Linked DNA regions of Homo sapiens: region 2 is linked to region 1. The links are contacts of gene promoters, found by promoter capture Hi-C in human tissues and cell types (Jung and others, 2019). All regions are on one chromosome and are shown on one strand. The core of a region is centred on a gene start or on the middle of the fragment in contact, and the rest is flanking DNA. Distances in the headings are between cores, read along the strand shown.

The links. Contacts are between HindIII fragments. The study calls those that stand out against the background at their distance.
Region 2: the fragment with the promoter of ZNF679 here is called in contact with a fragment that was not itself captured in region 1 in 3 of the 25 tissues and cell types used here (pancreas, small bowel and stomach).

What each region holds. Positions count from the first base shown.
Region 1 is chr7:64,264,067-64,268,867 of GRCh38, reverse strand. It overlaps ZNF679 (zinc finger protein 679), which reads right to left. Exons shown (of 5, transcript NM_153363.3): 5 at 1,937-2,972. The coding sequence ends at 1,999. Among named protein-coding and RNA genes, the nearest start is that of ZNF679, 38 kb to the right of the region's middle. The HindIII fragment of the contact is 5,347 bases long and covers 1-4,640 here.
Region 2 is chr7:64,225,600-64,230,400 of GRCh38, reverse strand. ZNF679 (zinc finger protein 679) reads right to left here and starts at 1,927. Exons shown (of 5, transcript NM_153363.3): 1 at 1,749-1,927. LOC105375319 (a long non-coding RNA gene) reads left to right here and starts at 2,780. Exons shown (of 4, transcript XR_927576.1): 1 at 2,780-2,888; 2 at 3,150-3,225; 3 at 4,095-4,236; 4 at 4,610-4,650. The HindIII fragment of the contact is 35,378 bases long and covers 1-4,801 here.

The DNA of each region.
Region 1 (4,801 bases), core at 718-3,217:
GCATACCTCGGATGTAATTATAAATCTCCAAAAAAAAAAACTACTTCGTTAAAATGTATATAATGTTAGCTTTGGATCATTTTTATAACTAGCACCCTGATTTAGTGTAATGTCTGAAGTTTCAGTGCCTTCATTCTTTCTACTGTGAATTCTCAAATGTTTATATAGACTTAATTTTTGATTAAATATATTTTCCCCATTTGCTACATCTGCAAAAATATTTTTTAGTAGAAACTGGTGTTTTCTAAGCTGTAGTTTTTGAACAAATGTTCTTTCACATTCATTACATTTTCAGGCTTTCTCTCAAATATAAATTCTCTGACGTTCACCAAAGTTTGAGCATCTGCTTCAGGGTTTTCCTTTAATATAAAATGTGTACAATAAAATCTATATTACAAGTAAAGGTACTACAATCCTCTTTATGTTTGAAATGTTTGTCTTCAGAATAAACAGTCCTTACTTTAAAGGCCTATATTTTCTGAAGGTCTTTTTACAGTAATCACATGTATAATACTTTTTTTTTGAGATGGAGTCTTGCTGTGTTGCCCAGGCTGGAGTACAGTGGCCCAGTCTCGGCTCACCGCAACCTCCGCCCCCTGGGTTCAAGTAATTCTCCTGCCCCAGCTTCCTAAGTAGCTGGGATTACAGGTGCATGCCACCATGCCTGGCTAATTTTTCTATTTTTAGTAAAGATGGGGTTTCACCATGTTGGCCAGGATGGTCTTGAACTCTGGACCTCATGATCCACCTGCCTTGGCCTCCCAAAGTGCTGGGATTACAGTCATGAGCCACCACACCTGGCTTATAATGCTTTTATTAAGTATAAACTTTCTGATATTAAGATGTGAACAGATATTAATGGCTTTTCACATTCTTTGTATTTGTACAATTTTTCTCTGGTTATAAATGCTTTCTTGTGCCATAAGGTGTGAGAATTTGTTAAAAGTTTTGCCACATTTTTCATTTTTGTAGGAGTTTTCTTCAGTATAAATTATCTTACCTACCCTAATGTGTGACTACCATTTAAAGGCCTTGCCACATTTAACACATTTCTGGAGTTTCTCAACAGGATGATTTCTCTTTGTTAGAAAGTTTGAGGTGTGGTTAAATGCTGTGTTACATTTTTTATGTATGTAGAGTTTCTCTCCAGCATAAAATTTTTAATTAATAAGGATGGAGAACCAGTTAAAGGCTTTGCCACATTTTTTTTTTTTTTACAATTGCAGGGGTTGTCTCCAATATCAATTATCTTACATTTATTCAAACAAAAATTTGAGGACTTTTTAAAGACATTTCCATATTCCTTATTGTAGGGTTTCTTTTCAGTATTAATTTTCTTAATGTAGAATAAGGGTTCAAGACTAGTTAAAAGCTAAAGCTTTTAACTACATTTTTGTTTTTGTAGGGTTTCTCTCTAAAATGAATTATCTGATATTGTGTAAGGCCTGAGATGTGCTTAAAGGCTTTGTCACATTTTTTACCTTCATAGAGTCTCTCTAATATAAACTCTTTTAGGCTTTGGGAGGCTGAGAGGCAGTTAGATCACTTGAAGTCAGGAGTTCAAGACCAGCCTGGCCAACATGGTGAAACCCCATCTCTACTAAAAATACAAAATCAGCCAGTGTGGTTGCATGCACCTGTAATCCTAGCTACTCAGGAGGCTGAGGCAGGAGAATTGCTTGAACCCAAGAGGCAGAGGTTGCAGTGAGCTGAGATCATGCCACTGCACTCCAGCCTGGGTGACAAAGTGAGACTTCATCTCAAAAATTTTTTGTTCTCAAATAAATTCTCTTAGGTTCCTTAAGGTTTGAGGGCTGCTTAAAGGCTTTGTTACTTTTTTTTACATTTATAAGACTTTTGTTCAATATGAATTATCTTATGTACAATAAAGGTTTGGAACTGGTTAAAGGCTTGGCCACATTCTTTACACTTGTAGTGATTTTTTCAAGTATAAATTATTTTATGTATTATAAGGTCTGAAGGCTGGACTTTATCACATTATTCACATTTGTAGGGTTTCTCTCCAGTATGCATACTCTTATGATTAGCAAGACTTGAGGACCACTTAAAAGCTTTGTCACATTCTTCACATTTGTAGGGTTCCTCTCCAGTATGAATCCTCTTATGAGTATTAAGAGTTGAGGAGAAGGCAAAGGCTTTCCCACATTCTTTACATTTGTAGGGTTTCTCTCCAGTATGAATTATCTTATGTTTCTTAAGGGTTGAGGAGCAGTTAAAGGCTTTGCCACATTCTTCACATGTGTAGGGTTTCTCTCCAGTATGAATTCTCTTGTGGTAAGTGAGGGATGAGGATAAGCTAAAGGCTTTGCCACATTCTTCACATGTGTATGGTTTCTCTCCAGTATGAATTCTCTTGTGGTTAGCAAGTGTTGAGGAGCGGCTAAAGGCTTGGCCACATTCTTCACATGTGTAGGGTTTTTCTCCAGTATGAATTCTCCTATGTTTAGTAAGGGTTGAGGACCAGGTAAAAGCTTTGCCACATTCCTCACATCTGTAGGGTTTCTCTCCAGTATGAATTCTTTTATGTTTAGAAAGGGTTGAAGAGCAGTTGAAGGGTTTGCCGCATTCTTCACATTGGTAGGAATTCTCCCTAGTATGAATTATCTGATGTTGATGTAGTTGTGAAACCATGCAAAATGATTTGCCATATTTTTTACATTTGAAATGTTTCTTTCCAGTATGTCTTGTCTTATGTCTATTGGAATTTGAAAATTTGCCGAAGACTTTGACACATTTATGAGTCTGAAATATTTTGTTTTGGGTAGTTGACAAACATTGGTTAACTTCATTACAACCTCCTTTTTGCACCTCACACTCACCCATGCTTTTACATGTTTTTACTTGTAAATTGTCATGTCCACTTTTTCCATATCTTCTTGGTATTACTTTTTGGAGTGAATCTTTTATGCCTAGCTCTGGCGGAAGGTCTTGGGTGAAATGAGAACACATAACTGAAAGACATAAAAATCACAAGTTACTTCACTTACTACACCCAGATAGATATACTTTACAAATCGAATATATAAAATTATACAAGGTACTTTAGCAAAATGGCATATCAAATTACCACAGGCCATAATTCCTTCATAGGTGTATAAATGTAACAAAAACATAGTGATCAAAATACCTTTGCTGGAAATTTATAAATAAAGTGTGTGCACCAGGTGGGCACAATACCAAGAGCCATATAGACAGAAAAGAAAAGTCTGATACATTTACCCAACACAGCCCTTCTTCATCCCCAATAGAAGAACATGGTGTCTTTAGGAGTAAACTGGCTTTTATTACAAAAGACCAGAAAAATACTGGCACCTATATCTTTATTTTTGGCTTATGGAGGCCTTTCTGTCTTCCATGATAGAAAGTGCTGAATCAAATGGTAGTATGCTTTGAAATGACACCTTTAAGTCTTTTGAGATCAAAGGTGAATGTTACAACAGCAGAAAGACTGTAGTACATGGATAGAAAATAGGTGTGGAAAGTAGCTACCTACTGGTAAGAAGAAACATGGAGAAGTCTTTTAATGGAAAAATAAATACAAAATTGCAGACAAGACACATCCTGAGAACATGTTTGAGAGACTCTGTGAATCTCTAGCCAAGAAAGAAAATTGGTTTCAGGCTATGCCAAGAAAGAGCTGCATTATAAAGATCGTGAAAGGTAGTTTTATGTTAATGTTTAAATCTCAACCAAAGATTACAATGTATACAAAACATGAAGACAACATGGTCTAATCAAAAAAATCAAAAATTTTGAAAAAGCAACTACAAAAATAAAGAGGCATATATTAATTTTAAAAACATAAGATAATCCATATTATGCTCAGTGAGAAAAATGGAAAACCAGACACCTAAATAAAATTAGAAAAATAAGAATATCAACAATAGGCTTGGAATAATAAAAACAAAACAATCATGGAATTAAAAAAGAATAAGTGAAAAAATTTAGAAGTAAGAAAAAAATAATGTAAGAAATGAAGAAGCTAAACAAACTAGGATATACACAAAAAGATCCATAACACATATTTAAACAAAGTTTCAAAAGTCACTAGCCAGAAGACAATCTTGGGAGCTATAAGATAAAAGTGAGGTATTATTTATAAGCATAGTCCTCTGACACATTTGACAACAGAAAGCTTGCAGGTCAGAAAAGAACTGTGTACAATGGTCAAAGTGCTGAAAAAAAATCTTCATGGTGAGAATAATAAATGCAGCAAAAATATACTACAAAATAAAGAAAAAATAAAGATCTTCCAGAATAAACACATGCTGGAAAAGCATATAAGCACTGCATGTGCCCTAAATAAAATGCTGAAAAGAGGTCCTGCCGCTTAAAATAACATGATGAAAAAAATACATAATCATATGAAAATATATAACTTTCTGAAAAACATATGCATATACAAAAAATAAAAATCTGTGGTATTATTGTGATCATGCAGAAAACATTTTTAGTTATTCTTTAAAATTTCAAAGATATAAGCATAAAAATAATCATAAAACATAAAAAGATATAATTATCAACATCAATAAGATGTATAGGGTAGATATAATGAGGACAAATTTTTCTATGCAACTGAAGTCATTTTTTTTTACCAGTTTAAAAAATATTGTGGTAACATTTAGAGGTGTTATGAAATCTCCAGTGTAGCACAAAGAAAAAATCTTTATAGACACACAAAAGAAAATGAGTCAATTACTAGCATGAGACAAAGATTGATATTATATAATGGTAAAATAAGTCCATTTACTAGGAATCTATAACTATTATGTCTATCTAT
Region 2 (4,801 bases), core at 678-3,177, 38 kb after region 1:
CCACCGCGCCCGGCTAATTTTTTGTATTTTTAGTAGAGACGGGGTTTCACCTTGTTAGCCAGGATGGTCTCGATCTCCTGACCTCATGATCCACCCGCCTCGGCCTCCCAAAGTGCTGGGATTACAGGCGTGAGCCACCGCGCCCGGCCTCTTGGCCCTTTTCTTAGGGGAAATTTGGACATATCTCTGGGTATATCACCTGGGTTATGTTACCATCTTTTTCTGCCTGAGTGTGGCCCACAGGGGAAATCATAGTATATTTTTAGACCCATCACCTAGGTGATGTTACTCTTCCCTTCTGCCTGGGTCCTGCTTCCAGTAAGAATTGTAACATATCGCTGGATCCTGCACCCAAATGATGTTACCCTCCTGCCTGGGCCATGCCGACAGTGGGAATTGTGACATTTCTGGGCCCAACATTTAAGCGATGTGACTATCCTCTTATGTTCGCAGCATGTGTTGTAACATATCACTAAGCCCAGAACTCAGGTGATGTGGCTTTCCTGCCATGGCACTGCACACAAGGAGAATGCTGACATATCCCTGGCCCTGAATTCAGATGATATGACTGTTTTACCTGATCCACACTCTGAAGTGAAATTGTTACATATACCCAGGCCCAGTTAGCAGACATGATGATGACTCTCATACATAGACCCAGCAAATACAACAGATTTTTTACTCCCCTGGCTAGATTTAGGGACACAGGTAAGGGTCTGCATTTCCTTATAAAAGGTCACAGGAAATATGACATAAATATTTTATAAAGTCCATGAGTTTTATGAGCTGTGTCATAATGCAGTCCAACAAGCAGGAGAGATTGTGACTCTCATAGGCACATCCAGCCAACAATGGGATTATCACTCTTAAACCTAGACACAGCCCACTGGTGAGGTTATAAATCTCACATATGGATGCAGACCACAGTTGGAATCGTGACTGTCGTATGTGGATGTGGCCACAGGTCAAAGGGGAAGTCATTTCTTGACTAACTCACAGGCACAGTGTTGTCTCTTATACTTGGACCAAGCTAATAGAAGAGACGTTGTCTCACTGTTACGCTTGGGAAAATGGGGATGGTTCTGGGTTTTCTAACTGTACAAAGGTCACAAAAAAATCACAACACTCATGCGTACAGTATAATGCCCTATTATACTGTACGCAACTTTGTATTGGGCTGTGTTGACACTCTCTGTAATACTGTAATACCTGACCACAGGTAAGATTCTGACTCATTTCTGGGCCCAGCTCACAAACATGGTGATGACTCTCATACCTGGACCCAGGCAAGAGAAAATGTGTTAACTTCTGCCTGGGCTTAGGGTAACGGGTAAGATCTTGGATCCATAAAAACATAAAGTTCTCAGAGCAGAATTCCACTCTCAAGCATGTTGTGTGAAGATCTCAAATGGTACAAAGAGTGTCATAACAGAGCCAAAAACATAGAGGAAATTGTGAATCTCCTATGCATACCTAGCCAACAATAAGGATGGTCACTCTCCCATATGGACACAGCTCACTGTTGAGGTTCTGAATCTCATGCCCAGAGGCAATGAAAAGTTGAAAGTTTGACTCACATACATGCATCTGATCAACAGGTAGGATAGTGACTCTGAGACCAAGATTCAGCACCCTGGTGAGGCTGTGCCTATCTTATGAGGACTCTGTTTGCAGGTGGAGATGGAGCTCTCGTGCACGGATCCTGTCCAGTGTTAAGACTGTGTCTCGTGTATTTGGATGCAACTCACCAGAAGTGTAGACTCTCAGACCTAAAGCTGGGAAATACGTAGAATTGTGAAATTTATTCCTGGTCCTTCCCGCAGGTGTGATTGTGGCGTATACTTTCACACAGCACCTAATTTATTTTACTAATTTGCTTGGGCCCAGCCAACAGTTGGGAATGTGACATATACCTGGATCAAGTACCTAGGTGATATAACTCTCCAGCCCAGGCCTTACCACAGGGTACATTGTGACATATCTTTGGACTTATCACCTATGTGATGTGACTCTACTGACTTGCCTTGTCTTGGCCTCCATTGGGGATTGTGGCATATTTCTGTGCCCAGTACCTAAGTTATGTGACTCTTCTTTCCTGCTTGTGCATTTAGAAGGGATTGTGACATATTGCTGGGCCAAGAACCTAGGTGATGTGACTCTCCTGCCTTGGCCCTGCCTTCAGGAAAAATTGTGACATGACTCTGGGTTTATTACCTAGGTGATATGACTTCCATTTCCTGTGTGGGCAAGGCCAAAGGGGTCACTGTGACATACCTCTGGACACCTCACAGAAGTGGTATAACTTTTCTCTCATTCCAGGACCCTGGTCTCAGTAGAAATTGTGAAATCTCTCTGGGCCCATAACCTAGGTAATGTGACTCTCCTGTCCTGCCTGGACCCTGCTTACAGGCAAGTTCATGACATTTGGCTGGGTCCATCACCTAGGTAATGTGACTCTGCTTTTCTTCCTGTGCCCTGCCACCAGTGAAGATTTTGACAAATTTCTGGGCCAATCAGCTGTGTGATATGACTCTGTGCTCTTTCCTGGGCCCTGTTAACAGGGAGCATTGTGACATTGCCAGGCTCAGCAGCTAGGTAATGTGATTTTTCTTGCTCTCTGGGCCCTACTTACAGAAGGGATTGTGACATACTGCTGAGCCAAGAACTCAGATGATGTGACTCTCCTGCCTGTGCCCTGCCTACAGTGGGCATTGTGACATATCACTGGATCTAGCACCCAGGTGATGTGATTCTCCTGTTTTGTTCTTGCCGGCAGGTGAAATTGTGGCATATACCTGGGCCCAGCTCACAACCACAATGATGACTCTCTTACCTGGACACAGACAGTGGGAGATATTTTGACTTTTGTAGCCAGGCTTAGGCCATAGGTAATGTCCTGGGTCTCCTACTTGTATAAAGTTCACAGAACATTACAACACTCAGGACTATCATAGGAAGCCCTAGAGTGATAGAGGTGATAACAAGGCCTAGCTAACAGCTGAGATTGTGACTCTTGTATGCAGACCCAGCCGACAGACTCTTCCTCATTCTTACAGATAAACAGAGCCTACGAATGAGGCACTTAATCTCACACATAAAAACAGTTGCAAGTTGGATTTATTACTCTCATATGTGGATCTGGTTTCCAGGTGGTTTGGTGACTCTCGAACCATGATTCGGCAGACCTGTGAGGCTGTGAGTTCCCTATTGGAACACAATCTGCAGGTGAGATTGGGGCTGTTGTGCATGCATTTTGTGCATTGTTGAGACTGTATCTCCTTTACTTGAACCCCACTCACAAGAGGGGTTGCCTCTCATACATGAAGCCAGGACTCGTGTGAAACTGTGAAACTCATTTCTGTACATTCCCAAGTGTGTGATTGGGAAATATACCTTTGCCCAGAACCTGAGTGATCTGACTGTTTCCTAGGCCCAGCCCACAGATAAAATTGTGACATATACATGGACCACCCACCTAAGTAATGTGAAACTCCTTCCTGGGCCCTGCCTGCCAAGGGCATTTTTACATTTCATAGCAACCAGCATCAACCCAGGTCCTGTGACTCCCCTGCCTGCTCCCTGCCTACAAAAAGCATTGTGACTTATTTCTGGGTTCATTACACAGGTGATGTGACTTCTACTGCCTTGGCTCTGCACTTAGAGTGCACTGTGACATTTAGCTGGGTACTGCACCCACGTAATGTGACTCTCCTGACTGAGTTCTTCCTACAGGAAGCATTGGAACATATCACTTAGCCCAGCACCTAGGTGATGTGATTCTCCTCTTGCCTAGTTCCTGCCCACTGGAGAGATTGTGACCCATTGCTGAGCCTGGCAGCAAGGTGATGTCACTCTCCTGCCTTGGCTGTGCCCATGGGGGCCACTGTGAAACCTGTCTAGGCTAATTACTTAGGTGAAGTGATTCCCCTTTCCTGCCTAAGCTCTGCCTACAGGGGGGATTTTGATATATCACTGGGCCCAGCAGCCAAGTGATGTGACTCTTCTGCCAGGGTTCTGCCTACAAGGGGGATTGTGACATATTTCTGGACCAGCACCCAAGTGATGTGTCTTTTCTGGCCTCTTCCTCCCCACAGGTTGTATTGTGCCATATACCTGGGACCAAATTACAAGCACAATGATGAATTTTTTACCTGGAGTCAAGACATGTGCAGGATGGTGGAACTTATCACTGGACCTTTCCACAGTGTTATTATGACATATAACTTTGTCCAACATGTGAGTAATTTGACTCTCCAGATGGCCCAGTTCACAAATAAAATTGTGACAGATACCTGGGCCAAGAACCAAAGAGGTGTGACTCATGTGCCTGGGCCCTGTTCTCAGAAAGATAGTGATATTACACTGCACCCAGCACCTAAGTGATGTGATTCTCCTCTTCTACATGGGGCCTGCCTACAGCAACACTTGTGACATATCAATGAGCTCAGCACTTAGATGATTTGACTATCCTTTTTTTCTGGGCCCTGCCCACATGGATAATTGTGACATATCATTGGCCCCAACAATTAGGTGATGTGACTGTCTTGTCTGGGATCTGTCAACAAAGGGCATTCTGACATACTTCTTTTCTTTTTCTTTTTTTCCCCAGATGGAGTCTTACTCTGTCGCCCAGGCTAGAGTGTAATGGTGTGATCTTGGCTCACTGCAACCTTCACCTGGAAGGTCAAAGTCATTCTCTTGCCTCAGCCTCCTGAGTAGCTGGGACTACAGGCATGCTCCACCATGCCCAGCTAATTTTTTTGTATTTTCAGTAGAGACAGGGTTTCACCATGTTGGCCAG